Linked DNA regions of Homo sapiens: region 1 is linked to region 2. The links are contacts of gene promoters, found by promoter capture Hi-C in blood cells and fetal thymus (Javierre and others, 2016). All regions are on one chromosome and are shown on one strand. The core of a region is centred on a gene start or on the middle of the fragment in contact, and the rest is flanking DNA. Distances in the headings are between cores, read along the strand shown. Region 1 holds the start of PTH (parathyroid hormone). Region 2 holds the start of SPON1 (spondin 1).

The links. Contacts are between HindIII fragments. The CHiCAGO score rates a contact against its expected background, and 5 or more counts as called.
Region 1: a contact is called between the fragment with the promoter of PTH here and the fragment with the promoter of SPON1 in region 2, in 1 of 17 cell types (neutrophils). The highest score is 6.1, in neutrophils.

What each region holds. Positions count from the first base shown.
Region 1 is chr11:13,493,295-13,499,709 of GRCh38, forward strand. It overlaps PTH (parathyroid hormone), which reads right to left and starts at 2,703. Exons shown (of 3, transcript NM_000315.4): 1 at 2,617-2,703. RefSeq lists promoters at 2,636-3,386, 2,648-3,707, 2,700-2,862, an enhancer at 3,077-3,098 and silencers at 6,023-6,415, 6,024-6,124. The HindIII fragment of the contact is 1,846 bases long and covers 1,413-3,258 here.
Region 2 is chr11:13,960,693-13,966,907 of GRCh38, forward strand. It overlaps SPON1 (spondin 1), which reads left to right and starts at 2,031. Exons shown (of 16, transcript NM_006108.4): 1 at 2,031-2,450. The coding sequence starts at 2,213. It overlaps LOC124902637 (a long non-coding RNA gene), which reads left to right and starts at 2,465. Exons shown (of 2, transcript XR_007062602.1): 1 at 2,465-4,353. RefSeq lists an enhancer at 5,316-5,834. The HindIII fragment of the contact is 7,695 bases long and covers 1,048-6,215 here.

The DNA.
Region 1 (6,415 bases), core at 1,453-3,952, 470 kb before region 2:
AATAAGCACTATAAATATTAAAATGTTAAGACTTCAATGTATAATGTCAATAACATCCTGCCTTTTTAAAATTGCTTAAAACATTTGTTAAAGATCATGCAAAATAAACACTGTATTAAAATGCTAGATTACACTCAAACATCAAGGCAATGAAACACAAAAGAGCAACTATTTAGCACAATGACTGGCCAAGTAAATAACTTAATCAGCATATTAATAAAAATCCACTGAGTGATAAACATCAAAAATGTAACACTGAATCTAGATAATCACGCATCTGCGATCTCACCATCTACCGTCCTAACTGTGACTTGGGGTAAACTGCCAGAATTCATTCTGCATAAATGAGCTATGTTAAAATGTTAGCAACATTTCATTGCATGATGACAGAGTACATTTCTAGTCCACACAGTACTTCAACGTGATCATTCTCTTAACTCAGCTAATAACTAATGGAAAGTACAGTTTTACAGTCATACCACTTATGTATATACATATATTTTACCCTTGCTTTGTTACATGTTTTTAAATTTTTTTTAAAAAAGTATTTCCTTTCTTATGATCCTCCCCCAGAATTAACATGCTGACTTAGGAAAAGACGAAGTAGATAAAGTCTATCCTAGTATAGAGAGCAATGGTTTACTTTTACCTAATTAAATATTTCCTTGTCATTTATCAATTGTCACTGACCTTTTTTATGTAATTATTTCCTCATTCACTCATCTATAAATATTTATTAGTGCCTGTTGTTACCCATGTCTCCTTGATTTTCCAGAAAAATAATTCATGTTTTTTTTTTCTTCTCATTGCTAAGCTCACTTAGAAAAATTAGGCACCATTTAAAAGACTTGGAGAACAGACCAGCGTGGCTTCTTGGGCACAGCTGGATGGTGCTGGAAGCCAGGCCTGGGATTTGGAGAGAAGAGTCTCCAACAGATAAACCCACGGAGGTCACCAGCCCTCCCTGCATCTACTCTCCTAACAGCTCAGGATGGCCCTGTTACACTACTGCCAGCCCTGGTGACTCGCTTTCTTAGCAATTTTTAAAGCCCTCTTCATTATGTACTTCCTACTTAAAATTCAGAACCTCTGTGATAAGCAATGCCTCTGTCATACAGAATGCTGGATCTCAGTTTACTGAGCCTCTCCCTGTAGTGTCACAGGCTGTGCACTCACCTAGATGAGCCCCTAAGAGCAGGGTTTGCTTCTGCTTCATCTAATGCCACATCTTCCCTCAAATGTGTGGTCACCAAATGTTCTGCAAAAAGGGTCTCTAGCTTTTTACTTTTCTTTTTGGCAAATTAAGCCCTTTAAAATACTTCTGACCTATCTTTATACTCAGATCTCACCTCATCTCAAGTTTTATGGGGTAATGCGCCAGTGAAAGGTACAGTGGTATTAGTGAGTTCTGAAGCTTCTAATTACATAGACAATAGAGGCTGGCTGGTGAGCCATGCTTCTCATGCTCCCTTCTGTCACACTGCAGAAATCTTAAGCTACAAGAGGAATGAAAGAGCCTATTTTTGAGAAATCCCCCCGCACTGCATTTTATGTTGATTATACCTAAATGTTTATAACTTGCTTGAAAATGCCTAATTTTCTTCATAGTGTAAATTGTTAACACTATTTACGTAGCAAATCCTTTTCTTAAGTAACCTTCATTTCAGGCATTGTAATAACCATAAATACCAAACTAATAGGTGCTAATCTAGAGATTTTCACTAAATTAATTCACATTTCTCCTAGCATTAAAAATAATGTGTCAAAGCATTTAAAAATCATCTGATTAATTACTTGTGATATGGATTTCGAGCTTTATCTCTGAATGGAATGCTTGTTTGTAGCTTATTTCTTCAACTTATTTTATTAACAATTATCTTTTAATATAACTTTTGTCTCTTTCCTCGTTTCACATCAGTATAGGATATTCTTGCCTTAATCTGCATTTCAGTACTTGCAAAGGCTGTTATTATAGAAGTGCTTTTCCTTAATGCTCAGTGTACTACCTTTTAACATACACATAGAGTAGTTATGTACTCCTATTTTACAGGGAAACTGCATCATTTAGAAATAGCATAGGAAATACTGTTTTCAGAATACAGCTGTCATTTATGTAAAGGAAATAAATATTTACTAGTCAAACTGGGCTTATCCAACTTTAGTATACAGATTGGGCTCTTTATGAGCCATAAAATAAATAATCTAGATAAGAATACTCTGCAGGAAAAACAGAATATTAACTCCACTTAATAAATTTATAAAGATTATTTAAATCAGAACTATTCATTCACCATCAACCTGTTTTATTTCAAAATTTTGACACCGATACTATTATATTAAAGCATAGCATGCCAAATTTTAATGATTTTTTGTTGTAATTTCAGATGAGGTTTTAAAAGGCAAGGTATCTCAGAAGACTTTAATCAAAAAGGATTTTGTGATTTGAGTAGCATTAATTTATTTTGTATGTGGCATTTTATATTAAACATAACTCAAACTTCTTAGCATTTTACCTTGAAGAAACAACATGGTATTTGTAGAAATGGTACACATTAAATAATAACTTGATTATCAAAATCTCATGAGATTCAGAAGTGAATTTTTAAGTTTACTTACCATACAATGTCTTAGAACAAGATCTTCGTTCAGGTATGTTAGTAGCTGATGCTGAGTAAACTAAAGACAACTGATGAATTGGACTGCAGACCCCTTAAATGGTGACTTTTATATATAGGTCTTCTGCTTACCAAGAGAGGCTCTTTTATTGTTACAGATGATGTCACTCCCAATTCTCTGGATCTCAACTATAGGTTCAAAGCAGCACATACACACACCCATTGGGCGGTGCACACTCTTCTTAAGTTTCAGATAATTGGATACTAAAAGGAAAACAGCATTTGGCTTGACAAGGGGCTTATGCAAAGACTTTTAACAAATACAGAATTATACCATCGAGAAAAATTCTATGTGGATTAATGAATCTGAATTTATACTGTAAAAAGACTGATTTCAAAGGTTTATGATAAAGTCATTATCTTACTTGAAAATAAAACCCAAAAATAAGTGTATTTGTTATAACCGTACTGTTGGTACAGTTTTTATGGTAATAAATCATAAATGTTAGGCTTACTTTACAAGCCATTTTCAACCAATCCATGTCACTTCTGGTCATCTTTCAAAAAACAGATATAGCCCTTTTCTTAAAGGAAGTGTTAAGAATAATTTGAGAAAATGCTCTTAGTACATAATTACTTTAAAAGCTTCAAAAGTGAAATTATTTTAAAATTTATTTAACTTATATTTTATTTGTGCATCTTAATCTATAATAATAACATTTGATAAGCACTAACTGCATGCCTAACTACATATATTATCCCACTAGATCTTCACAGCAGTCCTTTAAAGTTAGTACTTAAAGTACTAAAGTTAAGTGCTTATCCCCATTTTTACATGAGGAAACTTAGGCTTGGAAAGCAGAAAAGATGGAATTCAACAAAGGTCTTTATGACACCAGATTCTTACTACCTCAGTTTCTGCCTAGAAATACAGCCCTTCTTTGAACTCCAGTCTTCTTGACTTTAATTTGCAAAGTCATCTGAAAACACAGCAAAAGCTCTTTGCAACATTTTCCCCTAGGGGTTAGGTCTTTATTCTCATGTTCCCTAAGGGATGATGAGAGCCTGCTCCAAAACCTATTGGAGGCATGATGCTGCCACATGTCTGACTTCAAATATTCCTCCAGCAATATTTTCCTGGTCCACCTGTCAAAACACCCTGAATGTCTTTGATATATCTAGGACTCCTTTAGACAGCTTTGCCTTCCCACCAAAGATCCGGTGCCAGAGTGGGATCAGTTCTCTCAGCTCTGGTCCCATCCTGGCTTCATGTCATCCTTTTTCCTACTAGCCATTGTCAAGGTTTGACTCTACCTTAGGTAAGAGCCAGTACAAATTTGAATAGTAACCGTATGGAGTTTATAATGAGAGATATATACTAGTCCTGTCCTAGGAGATTCTCCACTCTGGGTTAACCTCACTTAGAGTGTTGCTCCAGGCTCCATTTTAGAAGCAGTAGAAACAAATGGGAACATACACTGAGGATATCAATCAGTTTGGTGAAAATGTTGAAAACTATAACATGAGAAGTAGTTGAATGAAACTAGAAAAGTCTGAGGAAAAAAAGACGGGATGACTTTATAGCTGTGTTTAATTATTTATAGGGTTACCATAAGGAAGAAGGAGTATTCTCTGTGGTTTAAGAAGGAAGGGCTGGGTTCATTGGGTTTAACTTGGACATTATAATTGTCAAAATAAGGAATCAAGTACCTTCTCAAATAGTGATTTCTCCATCACTGAGAATATTCAAGTAGAAGGTAGATGAGCATTTATCAGGCATACTATAGAGATTCATACATAGAAGAAAGTTGAACTAGATAACCAAGAGGTCTCTTTTAACTGTAAAAATCTGTTGTCTTGATCTTTTTAAAGACCTCTTCTGATGCAAACTCTACATGTGATGTTTGTGTGTCATTTTTCTGCTATACTCTGTTGAGAAGAAGAATTGGAAATACAGATGGTTTTTCTTTTTTCTTTGAGATAGGATCTCACTCTGTCACTCAGACTGGAGTGGTGCAGTGGTATGGACATGGCAGCCTCAACTTTCGGGGCTCAAGCAGTCCTTCCACCTCAGCCTTCTGAGTAGTGGGGGCTATAGGCACACAGCACCACAACCAGCTAATTTTTAAATTTTTGTGGAGGCAGAGTGTAGCTAAATTGCCCAGGCTGTCCTTGGCTCAAGCAGTCCTCCCACCTCTCGCTCCCAAAGTGCTGGGATTACAGGCATGAGCCACCACACCCAGCCACTAATGGATTTTTATTTTTTAACTTTTAAGTTCAGGGGTACATGTACAGGCCTGTTATATAGGTAAACTCATGTCGTGGAGGTTTATTGTACTAATTATATCATGACCCAGGTATTAAGCCTAGTGCCCATTAGTTATTTTTCCTGATCCTCCGCCTCCTTCCACTCTCCATCCTTCAGTAAGCCCCAGTGTGTGTGGTTCCCTTCTTTGTGTCCATGTGTTCTCATCTTTTAGCTCCCAATTATAAGTGAGACCATGAGATATTTGGTTTTCTGTTCCTATGTTAGTTTGCTAAGGATAGTGGCCTCTAGCTCCATCTTGTTCTTTTTTATGGCTGCCTAGTATTCCATGGTATGTAGGCACCACGTATTCTTTATCCAGTCTACCACTGTTGGGCATTTAGGTTGATTGCATGTCTTTGCTATTGTGAATAGTGCTATAATGAACATACGCATGCATATGTCTTTATTATAGAATGATTTATATTCCTTTGAGTATATACCCAGTAATGGGATTGCTGGATCAAATTGTAGTTTTGCTTTTAGTCTTTGAGGGATCGCCACACTGTTTTCCACAATTGTTGAACTAATTTACACTCCCACTAACAGTGTATAAATGTTCCTTTTTCTCCACAACCTCACCCATACCTGTTATTTTTTGGCTTTTTGATAACAGCCATTCTGACTGGTGTGAGATGGTGGCTCGTTATGGTTTTGATTTGCATTTCTCTGATGATCAGTGATGTTGAGCTTTTTTCCATACGCTTGTTGGCCACATGTATGTCTTATTTTGAAAAATGTCTGTTCATGTCCTTTACCCACTTTTTAATGGGGTTGTTTGTTTCTTGTAAATTTGTTTAATTTATAGATGTTGGATATTAGGCCTTTGTCAGATGCATAGTTTGCAAAAATTTTCTCCCATTCTGTAGGTTGTCTCTTTACTCTGTTGATAGTTTCTTTTGCTGTGCAGAAGCTCTTTAGTTTAATTATATCTCATTTGTTAATTTTTGCTTTCATTGCCATTGCTTTTGGCATCTTCTTCATGAAATCTTTGCTCATTCCTATGTCTATAACAGTATTGCCAATGTTGTCTTCCAGGGTTTTTATAGTTTCGGATCTTTAATCCATCTTGAGTTAATTTTTGTATATAGTGTAAGGAACAGGTCCAGTTTCAATCTTCTGCATACACAAATGGTTTTATAAACACATTTTTTGCATTGTTATTATAAAGCCATGCTTAATATTCTGATTTGGAGATTTTTCCCGCTTTGGGTAAGTTTAATGTAATTGACAGCCTTCTAGGAGTGATGCAATTATCACTTTCTTGTTCTTCTTTCTCTTACACTTATTTATAGAATAAATTGTCATACCAAGGCAACCACATTATTAAACTAGTTTTACAGAAAAATAAAGCAAATAGTTCAGACAGTGGTCACTCATTTGTTCACTCAAAAAAATGCGTTGAATACTATCTGCCAGGGGCTGTATTAATCACTGGATAATTGAGACATAATCAATGCCTTGAAATTTAACACATAATTATAATATAATGTGA
Region 2 (6,215 bases), core at 781-3,280:
GAAGACAGGGGTCACAATTTATTCATTTCTGTAGTTTCCTGCCCTCTGAGATAAGATCAGGTACACTTTCAAGAACCACTTATTTTAGTTTGTAGCATACATCACAATTATAATTTTAAAAGATTCATATAATTATGTATTTAATATTTGCCTTTGCCACAGGCCTGTAAAATCCTCAAAGGCAAGTAACATATCTGTGTTTTGTATCCAAGCACTGAGCACGTGGAGGGTCTTTGTCATGAATGAATGGATGGATAGAAGGATGCATGGATGGATGGATGGATGAATTTTTGTTCCGTCTTCTACCTACCGGTCAGCACAGAGTCTAGCTCCAAATCTACACTTAATGAAAGTTTGCTGGATGAATGGGACCGTGCAACTTGGAGTGCAGCATGAGCTCTGAGCCAGTCGAGTGAAGATGCAGACAATTCCCTCAGCACTCAGACATGGATCTGAGCCTCACCTCAAAAAGGAGGGCCGATCAGCTGGATCAGGTGCTGCTAGGGTCAAGAAGGGCTAGGGATGAGAGAAGAGCATAATTGGCTTCAGCAAGGGGTTACTTTCAGGTGACCTCTGAGAGAAGGCGTCCAGTTAATAGTGGCAGTGGGAATTCCAGCACAAGCACTAAGGAGTAAGTGGGCAGGCAGGGAGGAATGGAGATCTCCCATGCACCTAGCGCCCTGGGCCTGTTTGTAGCATTATGAAAGAGAAAACCCTGACCTGGAAAGCAAAGGAGATTGCTTGCTAATTGTAGGCACTTGAGGTGTGTCGAAGGCCCTGGGCAAAGAGAAGACGAGGAAACCAAAGCTTCTGAGGGCACCTGGGGAGGGATGTTTGTGTGCACTGAGAGGCAGGGGGCTTATGGTATCCCCAAGCGGGTGAGGGAGCAGGCGCCACTAGAGACCAACTAGAGTGTTTTATATGGGTCATATCATTTACTTCTAGCATATCACCCCACTACCTCTAAGAAGGATGTACTGGCACCCACCCCCACTTCCTTGTTCTCCAGAGCAGGAAACAAGCTTGGAGAGTGCGATAACTAGCCCAAGCTTCACAATGGGTGAGTGGCAGGACTGAGGTTTGATTCGGGTCTCTTCCCAGAGAGACACTGGGAGAGATTCTTGCCCCAGGTCTTTTCCCTTCAGGCCCTCAGGCTCAGCACCTCTCTGAACATCTGTCCCTGGGGAGTGAGAATCTGAACTAAAATGTAAGCCAAGAAAACACAGGCTCTTCATTGAATCTTTGGAAACTCCTTTCCTGGGCTGTAGGAGGACCTTCCTGAGCCTTAGGCACTTTTGCCTTTGCTGGCTCTTTCCTCCAAGTCAAGCATATTTTATGACTGTGGAGGTATAAATACAAATATATTAACATTATATAGTAAAACATTTTGTTTGACATAAATTTTTTCTTCTGATTTTTACAGAAAACATTTTCATAGATCTCCAAAAGTATCGTGGGCCCTAAGCGCTGTAGCTAAGTCGTTTCTCCTTTCTCAGCCTCCAGTCTGACATGTTCCACTATGGCCTTGGGAAGAGCAATGGGCCCGGAGTCGCCGCATCTAACCCTGCTGTAACTGGTCGCAAGTCACAGTTTGCTCATCTATAAAGTGAGCGAAAGTAATGTAATCTTTATTGGGAGTAGGGAACATGAAGGCGAGTCGATACAGTAAGTAAGCCGCCAAGCATATTGCTAGGCACAGAGCAGGTGTGCAACAAAAGTTATTTCTCAGGCTTTCCCTCCTCTGAGCGCCGTCCTCCAGAGGGTCCGGAGTGTAGCTGGGGGTTGGAGCAGCAGCCTCCTAGGCGATGGGACAGAGCCCACAGGGTCCGGTATGCCACGGTTTCTTCGTCAGACCCTGGGAATCCAACGTCGCAAAATAAACACGGCCGCGCCGCTAATCGCCAGTTCGGAGGAAACAAAACAGCGCTGCGCTGGGGGATCTGGGCAAAATCAGCCCTCCCTCCTCCCGCTCCTTCGCCGCGGCCCTCCCCTCCTCGCGCTGCTCTCGTTCGCTTGGCTCAGCTCAGCTCAGCTCAGCGCAGCTCCGCGGCCGCCAAGCCGAGGCGGGCACGGTCTCCGAGTCGCGGACGCCAGCTCCGAGCTCCCTCTCTCCGCCGCGCCTCCGCCAGGTCGCGCCTTCGTCGGGACCACTTCGGGCAGGAGTCGCGTGGCGAAGGCCTGCGGCCGCGGCACAAAGTTGGGGGCCGCGAAGATGAGGCTGTCCCCGGCGCCCCTGAAGCTGAGCCGGACTCCGGCACTGCTGGCCCTGGCGCTGCCCCTGGCCGCGGCGCTGGCCTTCTCCGACGAGACCCTGGACAAAGTGCCCAAGTCAGAGGGCTACTGCAGCCGTATCCTGCGCGCCCAGGGCACGCGGCGCGAGGGCTACACCGAGTTCAGCCTCCGCGTGGAGGGCGACCCCGACTTCTACAAGCCGGGAACCAGCTACCGCGGTAAGTGGCCGCCCGGCGTGGCATTAGGAGAGCGGGACCCGGTCCCCGGAGGGCGCCGACCTCGCGGTGCCGGAGGAGGGCGCGCGGTCTCCGGGCGCGTGGCGCGGGTGCAGCCCGGCAAGGGCCCTTCTGTCCTGGCTGCCCTCGGCCCTTGCAGTCGCGAGCTCGGCGCGGATCATAATCCAGCGTCCCGGGCCGTCGCGGGGGCCGCAGCCAGGAGAGGCACCCCGCGTTTCCGACGCGCGGTTCCCAGGCGGAGGATGTAACTGAGCCACACGTCACGCCGGCCTGACTGCAAGGGAGGCTCGCTTCTCCCCCGGCCGTCTGCAGGAGGGAAGTAAAACTGCCTTTCTCCAAATCGGTCTGGAGGGGACCCAGGCTTCTCTTGGTCGGGTCCCGGGCAAGGCAGCCACTCCAGCTTTCCCCGCTCAGTCCCTGAAGGAGAGGGTACCCGATTCTCAAAGACTGGCCCTGGGCGGGACAGCCACTCCGGCTTCCCTGGATAGGTCCCTTCAGGAGAAGGGACTTTGGCTTCTCCCTAACCGGTCCCGGGGTGCGGGAAGGAGGGGCAGGGACAGCCTAAAGCTCCTCGAAAGGGTCCTTGGAAAGAACCCCAAATTATTCTCTCGTGGTCCCAGACGAGATAGAGTATCTTGGGTTTCCAGAACAGGTTCCCAGTGGGGACAGGGTCCTCAAAGAGCTTGGGGTAAGCTCCGAGCTGCAAGGGGAATTGGATGAAGATGGAAAGAGAAGCCCCGATGCCCGAGGCCTGCTCCCTGGAGGCCGGGGAACCTTGGCTCCGGCAGCTCGGAGTCTCCACGTCCCAGGGATGTCGCGCCTACGCCGCTCGGCTGAGAGTGGGGTTTCGGGAGCTCAGGGAGGAGGTGTCCAAGCAGGTGAGAGCCTCCTAGGCGGGACAGGCAGTTCGACCAGCACCGATCTGAAGACGCCTGACTCTGTCCCCACGCCCGCCACCTCGCTCCTCAGCAGGGTCATCTCCCCAGACATCGTTTCCCCGTGCAGCAGCAGCCGCTCTCCGGGTGGGGGACAGGTAACCAGGAAGGGAAGCGAGCCTGTCTGGCCTCACCTTAGCTCCCGCCAGGGAGCGTGTCCTCTCACCCTCGCCCCTTCATAAGTCAGCTCTGGTGCTAAGCAGGGATGAGCGGGTCACTGGGGCACCTGGTGGGGCAAATGGGCTCCCAGCTGCTGTACTTTCCTCCTCGCCTTCCCAGTTCCCCAGAGAGCCTTGGACGGAAGCGGTGGGAGCAACACAGGAGAAAGTCTGGGGCAGCGTCAGCGGGCGCCAGGGTCACGCCGGAGACCAAAGCCAGGGGCCACCCTTCTTGGAGCGCTTTTCCCCCTTTCCCGGGTTTGTGTCCCCGACTTTCTCCACCCGGAGCTACCCAAAGCCGGCTCCTTGGTGCCCTTGGCACCTTGGCGTGCTGAGCACTTTGCGAGGAACAGTCTGACCCCGGCGCGCAGCTCCGCGGGATCCTGGGTACTCCACGAAGAAAGATTCTGGGCGGAGAACACCCCGCCCAGCCCGGGAGGGAGCGCGCGGCTTGGCACCGCGGCTAGAGCGAGCCGCGCCGACGGGCGGCGACTGCCACTCGGTGCAGCCGGGAGGCGGCCGATCCTCCCTGTGGACCGCAGGGAAGCGGGTATGACTTCAGTGGCCTATTCGGCCCTCCCCAAAACTGAGGACCTGAGTTCACAGGGGAAACTGTCCCCGCTCCACGTAGCAGAGAAAGAAGTGGCTCTGGAGTCCAACAGACTTGGGTTTACTCGCTGTGTGACCTTGTGCAAGTCATTTAATTTCTCTGCACCTATTTCCTAGCTGGAAAAAAAAAAAAGCTGTTTATCCACCCTCTCTTGGTGGTAGGGAGTAAATGAGTTTACAAAGGTGAGTGTGCCTGAGCTAAAAGAGATTCCTAATAAGCCTAACAGTTGAATGTGAGGCCTTTATTGGTTTACTAATGGAGGTAGGTTCTTGATCAGATTTTTGTTTTTGAAGAGTGTTGTGCGTTTGAAAGCAGGTTTCCTCAGCTCTCCTCCAGTCCCATTCATCTACCAGTGGTTATTTGGGTCCTCATGAATTAATTGAATGAATGAATGAGGTATTTTTTCATATCAGGAGCCTTGCCTAAGACTGTTGCTAATGCAAGCCCAGGAAGATTTTTTCAGTGACTTAGACTAGTCTGAGGTTCAGGCCAAGTGTACCCAGCGTCTCTTTTCACACTAATCCTCCGTGTTTTAGTTGAGCATTGGCAGCTGGTGGCCCTAGCACTGGGAAGGAGATACAGCTGGTATTCACGGGGCCAAAGAGGTTTCAGAACTACCTAAACGTCCAGGGCCAGCAGGTGGGGAACTGGGACTGGATAGGGAGTGTCCTGGACTTTCACCCTACAGGCTACTCCTGCCTAAACAGCCATCTGGACTTTGACACCCCAACTCAGGCTATAGATTGGGCAATCATCTTTTCTCCCTTCTTATGGCTAAAAGACCTTGGAAGAGATCTTGCAGGAACCATGCTGAGGTTTTCCAAGTAAATATCCTGCAATTAGCAAACCTGATTCTGCCACTCAAAGTCCGAAAGAAAAGGTACTGGCCTAGTTTGTGACATTTTCTGTTGGCTCCTTCTTTCTTAGAATAATTATGTTAAAAGTAACTCAAACACATTCTGCTCATTGTCCTGACTTAAGGCTGTGAAGCTGGCATTCCCCTGGTGTTCTATTTGCTTTTTAATTTTTTCATGAATTAGGATTCCTCACAATCCTTGGAATCAATGACTTGTTTTCCTGCCTCAAATCTTTGTCCACAGTATTCCAGTTCATCCCCAAGCAGCTTCTGTTCTTTGTGCCTGCTGTCTAAGTACAGTCTTTAGGTACTCTAGACCGGAATAAAATGGTCACTATTAAAAAAGACTGAAACATGGAGTTTCTTCCCCAAAACCTGAATCCAGTTGAGATCATTATTTTGTCTTTTCCAAGTTGTTAGTATTATATTGATTTCCTTTTCTTTCCCACCACTTCTCTCTACTCTCCCTCCCTCTTCCCACAGTCCCCCCTCCCTCCAACGGCAATAATTGTGCTTTAGAAAGCTCTGAAAGGCCTGCTCTGTTTCTGGCCAGGGCCTCCTTTGAAAAGGAGATTACAGTGATTAAAAATAACAAGTTGAGGATCCTCAAGGGGCTTCCCTTATACAGGAGGACAATTCGCAGGACCAGCCTTTCCCAGATCACAATTTCAAGCCAAACAGAAGAAAATCCACTGAAATATTCAAGAATTGATTGAAAATAAAAGAGGCTCTTTTGTCTTACTGGAGGTCTGTTTATTAGGAAAATAAAGTCAGACTCTGGCTAATGAGAGTGGCTTTTCCTAGATGTATTTTAAAGAGACATTTCAAGGAACTTGATGGGAAAAGAATGTCCAGTAGAGGTTTCAAAAGCTGGTCCAACTTCAAGCATAATTGAGGGGTTTATCCTAAACTGGGAGGTTTGGAGACCTCCAAAGCTGCATGGTTTTTCCTTTGTCCCACACTGAGACACACACTGACCACAGGGGTGGACACCTCAGCCTGGTGGAAAGCGCACAGGCTTTGATGTTGGGTGGGTTGGTTTCAGGTCCTCCTTGGTCACATATTCACTGTGTGATCTCAGGAAGCCACTTCACCTCTCTGAGCCAATTTCTCCATCTGTAAAATGAGGGTGTTTTGATTTTTTCCCAGCATTCCTGTGAGAATTAGAAATAATTCATGTCAAAAGAA